Linked DNA regions of Homo sapiens: region 1 is linked to region 2. The links are contacts of gene promoters, found by promoter capture Hi-C in blood cells and fetal thymus (Javierre and others, 2016). All regions are on one chromosome and are shown on one strand. The core of a region is centred on a gene start or on the middle of the fragment in contact, and the rest is flanking DNA. Distances in the headings are between cores, read along the strand shown.

Evidence for each region. The method cuts DNA at HindIII sites, captures the fragments that hold promoters and counts their contacts. A CHiCAGO score of 5 or more calls a contact.
Region 1: a fragment that was not itself captured here is called in contact with the fragment with the promoter of LHX2 in region 2 in 2 of 17 cell types (erythroblasts and megakaryocytes); the score reaches 6.8 in erythroblasts.

What each region holds. Positions count from the first base shown.
Region 1 is chr9:123,471,549-123,474,248 of GRCh38, reverse strand. All of the region lies in intron 13 of DENND1A (DENN domain containing 1A), which reads left to right. Among named protein-coding and RNA genes, the nearest start is that of MIR7150, 13 kb to the left of the region's middle. The HindIII fragment of the contact is 3,591 bases long and covers 1-2,700 here.
Region 2 is chr9:124,010,440-124,013,139 of GRCh38, reverse strand. LHX2 (LIM homeobox 2) reads right to left here and starts at 1,372. Exons shown (of 5, transcript NM_004789.4): 1 at 672-1,372. The coding sequence starts at 791. RefSeq lists an enhancer at 1-460 and a silencer at 1,399-1,448. The HindIII fragment of the contact is 7,434 bases long and covers 1-2,700 here.

The DNA of each region.
Region 1 (2,700 bases), core at 146-2,645, 540 kb after region 2:
CCGAGGCGGGTGGATCACTTGATGTCAGGAATTCGAGACCAGCCTGACTAACATTGTGAAACCCCATCTCTACTAAAAATACAAAAATTAGCTCGGCATGGTGGTGCATGCCTGTAATCCCAGCTACTCAGGAGGCTGAGGCAGGAGAATTACTTGAACCCAGGAGGCAGAGGTTGCGGTCAGCCAAGATTACACCATTGCACTCCAGCCTGGGAGACAGAGCGAGACTCCATCTCAAAAAAAAAAAAAAAAAAAAAAAAAAGAAAGAAAGTAAACGTTACCCCATTTTACAGAGCGGAACCCTGAGCTTGGAGAGGCTGAGTGCAAACCCATGGCCAATACCAGCAGAGCAGAAGCTCAGCCACCGAAGCCTGCGTCCTCCCCATACTGGGCGCAGTGTTGCTCCAAGGCCTGGATCTCTTAGATGGGGCCTAAACGGAGATTTAGGGACTTTTAGTGGAGAAAGAGACTGGGATGGGAAGCCAGCAGGGGAGCCTGGCCCTGGAGGACCCCCTCATTATAGGTGGTGACATCTCACCAGAGGAACAGGCCGAAAGTTGTGGTGGTCAGAGAACTACAAAAATAGCAGCCCTCATACTGCTTCCTACACAAGAGGAACGGGTGGTTCCAGGGCAGATAAGAATGACTTTACAAGATGAAAATGATCAGTGAGGGCACACAGGTCTGGAGAGGAGCGGAGTTGGCATTTTTTGGCCCTGCAAATAGCTGCCCATCTGCTCTCTGTCAGAATATGTTAGGGGTGCATCTGGATTGCTGCCCCTGAGTCTCGGCTCCAGGCTGGTCATGTGGTTGTCTCCACGACAACTCCAGGAGCGGTGTAAACGGCTGCGCTTGGAGCCAGATGCTGCTCTGCACATGTGGTCTAATTAAACGGTGTTCCCTGTCTCCCTCCGCCCTCCCCTGCCCCTCCCAGCACACACATACATTCTCTCTTTTCCATCCCTCCCTGCACCCCTCCTCCTTACATCCTCAGTCAGCCTGTCTGGCTCTCCACCCTGTGTGCCTCTTCTTCAGAAATGTTCCTGTTGCCTGATTTGCAGTAGAATAATTCATGCAACAAGCATCAGAGCGCTTGCTCTGACCCAGGCATGGGGCTAGAAGCTGGAGGTGCAGAGGCGAGTCAGACACGGCCTGCCCCTGAGGAGGTCACCATCTAGTAAGGATCTGACCGGCAGCCAGGCAATGTAATGCATGGCAATAAATGCTACAGCAGAGGTGAGCGTAGGGCTGCAGAGCCCAGAGGAGGGACACTGACCCAGCCCCGGGCAAGGAGGAAGCATCCCAGGGCAGCTTGCCCTGGGTTAATCCTCCAAGGGTGAAGGGCAAGGGGGACTCCCCAGCCTGAGTGGCCTCCCCACAGAGGGCCCAGCACACACAAAGGCAGGAGACTTACAGACCTACCTGGAGAACCGTGGCTGGCCCCGTGTTATGGGAATGCAGGAAGTTTGGGGAATGAGGAGCCGCGGTGGGCGGGGTGGGCAGGGTCACACCTTGGGGGGCTTCTCCCCAACTCCATACTCTGCTTGCTTCTGCAGGCACTGAAAGCCAAGGAAATGGGAGCAACTCAGTGGCTGCCTGAGGGGGACAAGGGGCCCTGAGTGAATGAAGCCTCCTGGGCATGTTTCCCTCGATGCAGTCCTGCCCTGGACACTCGAGGCACTGTTCAGGGCTGGGCGGGGTGTACCGGACATGCTGAGGAGCTATATTTTTGTGTGTATTTTGAGGGTCTGGCACCCACCACATCTCAGATCTCTGGCTCTCAAGAAAGATGCCCCCAAATGAGGAAGAGGGGAACCAGCAACTCCCTTGCTCACCCTGTCCATGACGTGCCCGCCAGCCCCAGTGACACAGCTCCTCGCTGTGAACCGCCGGCTGGCTGCCCCACCAGGCCCTCCACCTGCTTCCCAGTTAGGGAGCACTTGCTTCTTCCTGGTCCTTGGTTTTTATGCCTCCCCCTCCCCCAGTGGCCTTTCTTGGACCCCACCCCACCTGGACAGAGTCACCTCAGTCACCCATATTTGTGGAATGACAGGTACAGAAGGCCCCATCCAAGACATGATGCCCAGCTCACAAAGGGCATCTCAAAAGAGCCACAAAGGACGTTGATCTCCCCTGAGCACCTGCTGTGTGCTCCAAAGTACGGGCAGCTTGACACACACCATATCACCTTAAACCTCACAATAGGAAGTAGGTAGTTTCCCCAATTTATAGCTGAGGCAACTGAGCTCAGGGAAATTCACTTGCTTCCCCATTTCTTCAGAGCCCCTGGGCGGTACAGAATCCCCATCCAGAGATTCTGGATTCCTCGGTCTGGGACTGCAGCTGCAGAACATGGAAAAGGACATTTTTGTGTAGAAAATCGTCTGACATATCTTGGATTTCCTAGAAGCCCAGGGGAAAACTGTGTTTGGGTAACTGAGCGTGCTCAGAGCTCGGGGGTGTCGTGGGAGGAGCCTGGACTTTGGGGTCAGAGAACTGACTTCAAGTGCGACTATGGTTCTTCAGCTCTGTGGCCTTGGTCAAGTCACAGCTCCTTCCTCTCTAAGATGAGGCTCAAGAGCCTGTCTTTGTAGGGTTCTTACGAGAAGTCAACGTGCAGCCACAGAGAGTTGCCATGTCCTGCGGCGTCCCAGCCCTAGCAGGCAGCTTCGTGGAGGTTCCTTTTCTTCTTGCTGTACG
Region 2 (2,700 bases), core at 123-2,622:
CAGGGAGGCCTGAGGCGAGGAACTGGCTATTTGGGGCTGGGCCCGCGGAGCCAGGTGTAGAGATCCAAATGGAGTCTCCTTCGGCGAGGGCCAGGCCGGAGCCTGAACTCCCAGCCCTGGCCTGGCTAAGTCTGACCAGTCAAGGGTCTGGGGACGCGATCAACGACAAATGTTGGCCCCGAAGACTTCGGCCTCTGAAACTGCGCTGGGGGTTGAGGAGGATCCCCGATTGCCGGAAAGCTGGGAGCGGCCCAAGCCGGCTGGAGCCCCAATGCTCCCAGCTGGTTCGCCCTTCCCTGGCGCCGCTCGCGGCGCCGCCAGCAACCGGAGCCGAGAGGTGGAGGAGAGCGCGGGGCTGTCGACCCCGGCACCGGGCAAGGTGAGAAGGGAGCCGCCCCGGGCCGCGGATGGGACTTCGCTTCCAGTTCGGAAGAAACGCTCTCCTCTACCCCCAGGGCCGAGATTTCGGTTTCAACCTTGTTTCCCTTCTGCGTCCCAGCAGCCGGGTTTCCCCCGAACCGGGAGCCACCGGCCTTGCATTCTGACCGAGGATCCCCAGCACCCAGTCCCGTGCGGCACGAAGGACGCTCCCCAAACTTCGGGGAGCAGAGGCGCTGACTGGCCCGGCCCCATCCCAGCTCTCAGCCCCGACCCCACAGCCGCGCGCCTACCGTCTCGGTGTCGCCGCGGTCGATGGCGGAGCTGATGGCGGGAGCCTCGCTCTTGGCCCTGCGGTCCATCTCGTCGATGACCCCGTGCACCTCGGGGCCCGACAGACTGTGGAACAGCATCGCGGCGGGACCGGCGGGGCCGGGGGCGCGGCTCCTCCGAGGGAGGGCTTGCCCCCCGCCTCAGCTGCCTGGCGCTCCTGGCGCTAACGGGCCCGGTGCATCGCCACCGCGGCCCCGGCCCCGCCCGAGCTCGGCTGAGCCCCCAGGCCGGGCTCCGGGCCCCGGGCGCTCGCGGGGCAGGACGCCTCCCGCCGAGGCGCAGGGGCAGCTACATTGCGGGGCGCCTGGGCGACGGCGCCAAAGCCAGGGTCACAAGGGCACGGGACAAGCGGGGCGGGGGGAGCAGGAGACTAGGACAGAGGTCGGCGCCCGCCGCGGGCGCTTTCACGCCGCGGGCATCGCCCGCCCGGCTTCAGCGCCCGGGGCGCAAAGCAAGGGCGCAAACTCTGCCCGAGGCGGCGACGGCTGCGGTCGGGGTTCACCCTGAAGCCGCTAGGTGTCCGCGGCGGCCCAGCTGCCTGGACCCCTCCCCTCCCTGGGGTGCGCCCCCAGCCCAAGGCGACCCTCTTGGGCGCTGAGTCGGCGACTGGAGTAGGGGTTTCTCCGAAGCCTGCGAGCCGAGTCGAGCCACCGGGAGAATTGAAGAGGAGGAGGAAGAGGAGGAGGAGGAGGCGGAGGAGGAGGTGGAGGAGGAGAAAAAAGAGGAGGAGCAGAGTGGGAGGAGGAGCCGCCGGCCGCGGGCCCAGCCGCGCGCAATGCTCTCCAAGCGCGCGCCTAGCCCAGCCCCGGCTCTGCAGTCCGCGCCAGCGCAAGCCTCCGCGCCTTTTCTACAGCCGCGCCTGACATCACGTCCTGCCGCCGTGCCATTGGCCGCTCGGCGCCCCAGGCCCTGGCAGCGCGTGCTCCGGGAAGGCGGGAGACCCAAGAGGGAGGGGAGAGGCAAGAGGAGCAGAGGAGAGTCGAGATGGTGGGAGCTGGTGGGCGAGGCTGGAGGGCGGGGGTGGGGGGGAGGCAGGGAGGAGGGAGAGCGCGGGGTTTGGAGTTTTTAAGATACGAACAGCTTCCTGCGATATCTTCAGAAAGGAAAATTAAACCCTCTATCCTAAGAAGGCGCAGCAAGGGGATGCTCGTCTCACTGCGGTCTCCCCTCGGCCTGGAGCCGCGGCCTCAGGCACCCGCCTGGGAGGCCCGGGAAGGCAGGCCTGTGGCAGAGTTGCAAGAGCCTTCGGCCGGCCGTTTCCCATCGAGCTCCGCCTTCGGCCCGGGCTCTGCACAGCGGGCTGCAGGCGGCCGTGCAAGCCTCCTGGGTACCCGGCAGAGCCTGAGTGGCGAGACCGGCGAGAGCTGTGACTCCCGGGGAGGGGGGCCAGCCAGCATATCCACGCTCCAAGCCCGCTAGGGCCCAATCTGCAGCCCAGCGTGTAGCTTCTCGCTCTTCCCGGTCTCTCCCCAGCCTGGAAGAGTGGGGGCGAGCATGGCTTTAGGAACTCAGAAAGGCCAGGGTTCGAATCCTAGCTCTGCCATTTACATGCACTGTAACCTTAGGCAGTGACTTATCCTCCCTTAGCCTGTTTCTGACCTTTATAATGGGCGACAAGAAGCTCTCCTCCGCATGGACGTGTTGATTGAAAGAGACTGTGGATGTAAAATGCCTGGAACATAGTAGGCACTTAGCAAATTATTTCATTACTCTCTCTTGCTCCTTTTCCATTAAAAACTTTCTCACTCCAAGACACATTCGATATCAGTGAGGTTCTTAAAAACCACAGGCCTATTCTCTGCCCACTGGGCACACCATGTCTCAGACCCCGCTGATGGCGCGAGTCCTCCTTACCCGCCTGGCTGCACCACCTCCCCAGGGGCCAACAAAGTAGCGTGCTGGGTAAATCCCAACTGCTACCCCCAGCCTCCAGGTTTCAGGCTCACCCTAGAGTCTCCTGGGGACTGGAGGGAAATACCCAGGTGTCTG